2 separate regions of the Homo sapiens genome follow, and region 1 is linked to region 2. The links are contacts of gene promoters, found by promoter capture Hi-C in blood cells and fetal thymus (Javierre and others, 2016). All regions are on one chromosome and are shown on one strand. Each heading gives the region's core, a stretch centred on a gene start or on the middle of the fragment in contact. The rest is flanking DNA. Distances are from core to core; before and after follow the strand shown.

Evidence for each region. Contacts are between HindIII fragments. The CHiCAGO score rates a contact against its expected background, and 5 or more counts as called.
Region 1: a fragment that was not itself captured here is called in contact with the fragment with the promoter of ABHD12B in region 2 in 1 of 17 cell types (M0 macrophages); the score reaches 6.0 in M0 macrophages.

What each region holds. Positions count from the first base shown.
Region 1 is chr14:51,229,427-51,233,436 of GRCh38, forward strand. No RefSeq gene overlaps it. Among named protein-coding and RNA genes, the nearest start is that of TMX1, 8.8 kb to the right of the region's middle. The HindIII fragment of the contact is 4,378 bases long and covers 11-4,010 here.
Region 2 is chr14:50,869,914-50,874,415 of GRCh38, forward strand. ABHD12B (abhydrolase domain containing 12B) reads left to right here and starts at 2,140. Exons shown (of 13, transcript NM_001206673.2): 1 at 2,140-2,365. The coding sequence starts at 2,262. The HindIII fragment of the contact is 8,761 bases long and covers 2,051-4,502 here.

The DNA of each region.
Region 1 (4,010 bases), core at 950-3,449, 360 kb after region 2:
AAATATTTAAAGCTTCTTTGAAGTTAAATTTTAAAGCCAATCTCATAAATTCAAAATGACCCTTACTTTTGTCTTTCTGCATCTAGATGGGAGAGGACTAGTCAATAATCCTAATCTTGGCCTACGGAGCTGTGAGATTGTCTGAAGAGCCATGTCCTTTTGTGATGACACATGGCGTCATACTTCTCCAATTGTGTTTTGTTTCTAGTTTTAGCGATAGTCTTTTGCTGCCACTAACTATATATATGAAAGGATTTCTTTTCCAAGCTGATATACAAAAGGCTTTCCCCTTTCAGGATATCAGTGATACTGTTTACTACAATATCTGTGAGATAATATCTTTTCTCTTATTCATCTGTAATTATAAACATACATGAAGATTTTTTCGCATACATGTTGGAAAAAGGTCCCACTTTTCAGTTCATTCCATGTGATGAAGTACCTAGAGTAGGGTTCCAGAATGTAGGAACTTTTTTTTTAAATTTGAGACAGGGTCTCACTCTGTCATCCAGATTGGAATGCAGTGGCACGATCTCGGCTCACTGCAACCTCTGCCTCCCAGGCTCAAGTGATTCTCCTGCCTCAGCCTCCCGAGTAGCTGGGATAACAGGCACACACCACTACCGCCCAGCTAATTTTTGTATTTTTAGTAGAGATGGGGTTTCACTATGTTGGCCAGGCTGGTCTTGAACTCCTGACCTCAAATGATTCGCCTGCCTCAGCCTCCCAAAGTGCTGGGATTACAGGCATGAGCCACCGTGCCTGGCCTGTATGAACCATATTTCTAATTCTTAAAATATATTGCCAAATTATTTCCAAAAGTGCTGTTCTGATTTATCAGGCTAATAGTCATGTTTTGTTTGATGACTAGTGTTCCAAGTATCGGTTACCTTCTAAATTTTAAAAACTTAAAAGGTAAAAGAAATCTATACTTTCCATTTACGTTTATGTTATAAATATACAGAAAAATTTCATTACATTGACTTTATATATGTATGTATATATGACTTAATATATGTGTCTGTGTGTCTGTGTGTGTATACATACAGAGACATTGATGTCTGTTGAGTTAAGCACATAGAACTTCTATGTTTTTATGTAATCTTGGTGTCTCTAACTCTTTGGGCTATAGATTTAATTAGCCTGCAGAATCTGGTAATACCAATGACCTATAGGTACTGAAGAAACAATGATAAACATGATAGACACAGTTCATAATCTGGAGTCACAATCCTGTGGGGGAGACACAAGTAAGTAGGCAAATACAATACAGTATACTAAATGTGAAGTTAGAAGTTCAGGGTTCAGAGAGTGTACCAGGGAAGACATCATACCCAAACTAATTGGCTTAGGAAAGACTTTCTGAAGAAAGGGATACATAGGTAAAATCTGAAGATTGAATAGTTATGTGGCAATGAAGCAGGGCAGTTGGGGAATGAGGGGAGCAGTATACCTTCCACAAAAACCTAGAAGAGAAAATATAGCTTGGTCAAGGTACTGTAAGAAACCTAGTATGACTTTATCAGACAGTACAAAAGAGGTCAAAAACTGAGGCTTGGTCATTAGAAAAGGCCAGATACAGTATGATTTTGGAGACTATATTAAGAAAGTTGAACTTTATGCTAAGGATAATAGAAAGCATGTTACCTAGCCATTAAACAGTTTTAAGTAGGGGATGACATGGTCAGCCTTGTGTTTCAGGAATACCACTTTGGTTTTAGACAGGAAAATATACTTGGTGAGCTGGGAGGATGCAAGTATAAAAGCATTGAGACTAGTTAAGAACCTTGCATGTTGTAATAATCCACATGAGACAAGATGATGGCTTGGGTTGGGCTTCCAGATGGCAGTGTAGACCCATCCCAGCAAAACAAGCATAATTGGTTGTATGAGTTTGCTGGGGCTGCCATAACAAAGTACCAAAAACTGGGTGGCTTAAACAACAGAAATTTGCTTTCTCATAGTTCTGAAGGCTAGAAGTTTGAAATCAAGATTTTGACAGGGTTGGTTTCTTCTGTGGTGTTTCTTTTTGGCTTGTAGATGGCAATCTTCTCCTTGTGTCTTCACATGGTCTTCCCTCTGTACTGTACAAGTCTGTTTTCTAATTTCCTCTTCTTACAAGGATACCAGTCATTCTGGATTAGGGCTCACCCTAATGACCTCATTTTAACTTACTTGACTCTTTACAGACCCTATCTCAAAATACAGTTACACTATGAGTTACTAGAGGTTAGGACTTCAACACATGAATTTGGAGGGGGCACACAACTTCATCCCATAATACTGTTGAAAACTATAAAAACAAAAACAACCATCTAAAGTCTGTGGAAATTGTCCTAAGGGCATACAGCAAATGAAGAAGCATTCTTTTTTTTCAAGAAAATCCACTAAAACTGAGTAAGAACAGTAACAGTCTATGGCGTCTGAGCCATACACTCGATTCCTACCCATCTTCCTCACCCCCTGAGCTCATCTTGGTCAAAACTCTACTCTGGGTGAGTGTGACCAAGAACATAGGGCTCCCTGTCTCCTCAACTCTCAATCAAGAGAGGCAATATCTCACCAGGAGGAAAAGGCCACCAGCATTTTTCATCCATTCCAACTCTGAGTTGCAAAGGCTAAATTCCTGGTAAGTGTGGCCCCATACAGGGGACAAAAGTTCTATGCCAGGTGCAGCAGAGTGAGAACACTGGGAACTCCAATCACCCTTAACCCAGCTTGCTCATATGGCAGAGGTTCCACTTCAGAAGCAAGTCAAGAAGATCAGAGCCTCCTGTTCTACCCAGTGCCCAGAATAATAACTAAGCAATTTTGCCCATGAGTAGACGCAGCCCATAAAAACAGAGAGCCCTGAAGCTCTCCCCAGAGGACTTACCTTTATTTGAAACAGAGTGTGGGTGATGGTCAAGCCTCGGGTTGCTCTAAAAAAAACAATAGTTTCCTGTAATAAAAAGCAACAAGCTAAACCATAAGCTAGCTAGTTTACCAGAGAGAACCAGGGAAGGAGACAACTAAGAAGAGCCCTCTTGAGGTTAGAGGAAACCTCCAAGACTGGCCTCAAAAACTACCAATGCCTGAATTTTATTGGATTAGACTGTGGAGCAATTTATGCCCCAGGGGGTATCTTCTTAAACAGAGAAATCATCCTACACTTAGTGTAGCACAACAGCTAGAGGTAACACCAAACGAGACAGAAAGTTTAACAGAGAGATCAAGGAAAGAGACAGTCAAAGAGAGCCTTGCTAGAACCACTGATATCCCCTGGTGACGGTGCACATGTCCAAGGCTGCACTCTCTGAGAAATGGGAGCAGAGGCCTTCCGCTACTGGAGAAATAGACTTCACCAAAATAGCCTAGCCAAGTCACTAAACAAACCACAATCAAATAAAAACAAAAGACAAGTCCAAACCATATAGAGGGAATCAGTACTCAGAATTGCTATAATGTATTACCTAAAATGTCCAGTTTTCAATGAAAAAATTGTCATGCAGCGAAATAGCAAAGTATGACCCATAGATCAGAGAAAAAAGTAGGCAACAGAAACTACCTGTGACAGAGCCAAAATGTCAGATTTAACAAAGATATCAAAGCATTCATTATAAACATATTCAACAAACTTAAATAAATCGTGCTTAAAGAACTTAAAGGAAGGTATGATGACAATGTTGCATCGAAAAGAGAATATCAATAAATAGAAATTATTTTTAAGAAGCACCAAATGGAATGTCTAGAGTTAAAAAGTACAATAACTGTAATAAAAAAAATCACTACAGGCGCTCACCAGTAATTTGGAGGCAGAAGAAAGAATCTGTAAACTTGAGATAGATTCACAGAGATTATGCAATCAGAAGAACGGAAGAAAAAAGAATAAAGAAAAATGAGCAATAAATGTGGGACACCATTTAGTTTACCAACATATGCTTAACGAGATTACCAGAAGGAAAGGAGGGAGAAAGGAGCAAAAAATACATGGATTTGAAGAAATAATGACTGAAACCTTCATATTTTCC
Region 2 (4,502 bases), core at 890-3,389:
TGAAATGAATCTCTACCAGCTGGGATCCTGATTTGTATCCCTACGGTGCCCAATGTGGTACCTGGTACCTAAAAGGTGCTCAGTAAATGGGTGCTGAATAAATGAATGCATATTTTGTTTTTCAGGTTCTATCAAATCATATGGGAGACTTTGTTCCCTGATTTCCAGGATGTGCCATTTGAAAGGGGCTATTTATACTGGGAAAGACCTTCTTGCAGAGTCTTATGCAACCTTTCAAAAAATGGGCCATAGTGATTTCCAATTTCAGAGATTTTTGCTGAGCATTTCAAACATATCCCTAGACTTGGGGCTTACAACTTTGTTCATCCAGCAAGTAGATGGAAATATCCTCTCTCAACCTGAGCAAGTAGATGGAAATAGACTCTGGGACCATATGCAGCTGTTCTTCTCTCCTCCAAGCTCTCCTCCCCATCTTTGATCCCTCCATCTCCACTTGGCATGGCCCCAGAGTCCCATCCAGAGCTTCCCTGAACAAGTTCTGGGAGATTCCAGACCACGTTTATGAAGAACTCCAAGGGTAGAGCCGACATCTGCTTGAAGCTTTCTCATCATGCAGGTTGTGGCTCTGTGAAAACCCACCTGCTGCTGGCTCATCAGTCAGGCTTGGATCCCATTGGTCCTTTCTGAGCTAATTCCTCTTCTATCTTGATGTGTGTGAATCAGAAACTGAACATTCCAGCCAGGTGTGGTGACAGAGACCTGTAATCCCAGCACTTTGGGAGGCCGAAGTGGGAGAATTGCTTGAGGCCAGGAGTTTGATAGCAGCCTGGGCAACATAGTGAGATCTCATCTCTATACACACAAGCGTGCGTGCGCGCGCGCACCAGGCATAGTGGTGCATGCTTGTAGTCCCAGCTACTTGGGAGGCTGGAGTGGAAGGATTGCTTGAGTCCAGGAGTTCAAGTGAGTTCAAGTACAGTGAGCTATGATTGCACCACTGCACTCCAGCCTCAGTGACAGGGTAAGACCATGACAAGAAAGAAAGAAAGAAAGAAAGAAAGAAAGAAAGAAAGAAAGAAAGAAAGAAAGAAAGAAAGAAAGAAAGAAAGAGAAAGAAAGAAAGAAAGAAAGAAAGAAAGAAAGAAAGAAAGAAAGGAAGGAAGGAAAGAGAAAGAAACAAAGAAAACAAACATTCCCAGAGCAAGTATAAGAGTATTAACAGGCAGTGAACAAAATCCCCCTTTGCCCTGACAGTTCCATGAAATGAGCTAGTACTCAAAGAAAACTTCCCTTTCTTGAAAAGTGTGGGTATTTTCCCCCAGACCATCTTACTATCCTCAAGCAGATGGGTTTCCACGCACTTTCTGGTGCTGACAGCCCCCTGCTGTGCCCTCTGAACACAGACACTACAAAAAACCCATTTCACCTCTTAAGATTTGCACCTTGCCTCCAAGATGAAGCCTTGATGCTGGCATCCGAATGTATCCAAATAAAACCTAATTCCCTTTCTTCCTCCTTTGTCCCCACACATGCAGGCCGTGGCTTCCCTAGAGTAGCTCTGGTAGACAGTTCCTGCTCCTAGGAGACAGTTGCACAATGTAAACCTGCACCAAGATGTAAACCTGTACCAAGGTCAAAGTTTCAAGGTGTGAACTCCTTGGTACAATGATGAGGTTCTGCTACATGCTGCTACGTAAACAAAATACCGAAAAGGTCTTAATTTTTTGCTACATGGAGTAATTGTGTTCATAACCCCACGTGGACAGACAAATCATTAGTAAATCAAAGGGAGCCAAAGAAATTCTTTCTATAGTAAGGGTGACAGGGTGGGGGGCTGTGAGGATTTTGGGGGTGGATGGGGAATTGGAGACAAGGAGGCTTCAGAAAAAGAGAAAAAGAAAAAAGTGAGGTTTAAGTAGAGGAAAGCTTATATTCTTCATGAAAATCAAAAGCTGTGGCGGTCAAACTTTTGTGTTAGTAGTACCATGGTGAAAACATATTTTACTGCGTTGCGCGCGCCTCACACCCACACACACACAGAAGTATAATGGAAATCAATTTAAAATAAAATGTAGCATAGCTAGCTATAAGCTTAGGACATCTGTGTGTGTGTGTGTGGCCGCGAACAGCCTGACCCGGGCGGAGCGCACCCTCGGGCCGCGTCTCCCCCGCCGTACCAGCCTGCCTGACCGCGCGGAGGAGGAGGGCGGGCGCGGTGCCGCCGGGGCGGGAAGGTCGCGGGCGGCTGCTCCGGACTGCAGCTCCCGCGGCGGTGGCGGCGTATCGGGACACGGCGCGGGATGGACGCGCAGGACTGCCAGGCGGCCGCATCGCCCGAGCCGCCCGGGCCCCCAGCCCGTAGCTGCGTGGCCGCCTGGTGGGACATGGTCGACCGCAACCTGCGGTGAGTACCGCCCGGTCCACCCCTGGCCGGGCCCCGACGGCTCAGGCTGCGCGGGGATGGGGCAGGGGGCCAGGGCGCGGCCGAGGCCGCAATCCCCTCTGCTGGCCCGGGCCCAAGGCCCAGCATTGTGGCTTCCGGGGGACCTCGGCGGCCCCCTGAGAACTCTAGGGCTCTTTGGTTGCCCTTGCTATCCTCAGCCTCAATCCCAACCTGGACCAGCGAGACTCTCAGGTTTGGTATTTCAGGAAGTTATAACTTTTGGGGGCTTCTGAAATACAGATGCCAGGGAGATGGTTGAATTCCTACACCAATCTCTATTATCTGACCATTTTGCTAACATACAAGATGGATCTGAATGACATTAGTAATAGTGACAATAGTAATATATGTTGTAATCTTGGACGGGATCCTCTTAGGTCAAGGGCCTATCTGTGTAGGTGGAAAAGAATCAGAAAATCCGTGCCTAGTTCCCTGAGTGTGAACTCCCTGGCATGTATTTAAAGAAAACACCTCCAGTATGCTAAAGATGTACATAGTGTGTTGAAACCATAACTTGGCATTACCTGTGCCAAGTTCTTATGTTGTTTAAGTCTGAAATGTATCAGTGGGTGTTTCGGGTTTTGTTTCTGTTTTCTTCCTCCCATGGATCCTCGGTTTAAACAGTAATCTTAAATTACCTGAATCCACCTGCAACATATTGTCAGTCTTGTTTGCACTGAAGCCAGGTATTGGTTGGAGATCGTGGACCCAGGACACGTGGGTATTTCATTTAGTTTTGTTGGTGTGGGAAGGTATTGGCATTTTTACTTCCCTCTTTCTATTCCTTTTGTTTAATTTGTGCTGATTAGAAAATATCCAAAAATTACATCCAGACACAGGAGACCTCACTTTGGAGTGCCCAGAGTGATGATGACAAACGGGGATCTTTTCTCTCTCTCTCTCTCTTTTTTTTTTCTTTTTTGAGACAAGGGTTTCACTCTGTTGCCCAGGCTGGAGTGCAGTGGCACAATCTTGGCTCATTCCCAGGGCTCCAGCGATCCTCCCGTCTCAGCCTCCCCAGTAGCTGGGACTACAGGCACCTGCCACCACACTGAGCTGATTTTTGTATTTTGTGTAGATATGGGTTTTCACTACATTGTTCAGGTTGGTCTCAAACTCCTGGAGCTCACAGATTCCACCTGCCTTGGCACCCCAAAGTGTTGGGATTACAGGTGTGAGCCACTGCACCTGGTCTCTTTTCTCTTCTATTCCTTTTTATTCTCATTGCAGACAGCAGAGTGCTGGCAGCTCTGCAGGGGCCCAGTCACCTAGAACCCATGCCTCCCAGCTCTGGGTTGGATCTGAACACGTGGCAGAATGTCCTGATTGCACTTGTCAAACTGCATATTAACAGGACTTCTCTCCCAGATGTGGTGATTCTGGGAACGTTGACATCTAATGTTTTTCACTTTGATGGTCTCTGTGGAATTGATGGCTGATTATTTAACATTTATTTGGCAGTAAAGGGCATTTATTAGGCAGAGAATCAAAGTTGCACATCATACTCATAGAGAATAACCCACTTTGTTGATAATGGAGTGGGAGATAGGGAGTTGGGGACCATCTATTACTTGCCTTACTAATTAGTGAAAAAAGTCTCAAGAGACACTTCCTGAAAGAACAAAATACTAGCGTATGTCTTCATCTGAGCAGAAGATTATTGGCTACCATAAGATGTGCTGAGGCTGAGGCCCAGACCCATTTCCACTATCCCAAGTCCTCTTTGATTCTTGGAGCCGGGTTCACTTAGGTGAGCAAACCTTCATGGAGGGCTTGCCATGCCCCTGGCCCTGATCATGGCACTGGAACTAGTGGGATGTGTTGTGAGACCCAAGAACATTTCATCATATGATTTTTTCAGTGGCTATTTTTTAATGCCTTGGGAATCTAGTTATTTATTTTACAAAAATTTTTATCAAATCCAGTTGCTGCTTAAGGTGGGTGGGCCAAGGAGAGTAAGTCTCCACTTTACAACTGGTTTTCTTTAAATTAGAAAAATGAGGCCAGGCATTGTGGCTCACATCTGTAATCCCAGCACTTTGGGAAGCCAAGGCGGGCAGATCATGAGGTCAGGAGATGGAGACCATCCTGGCTAACA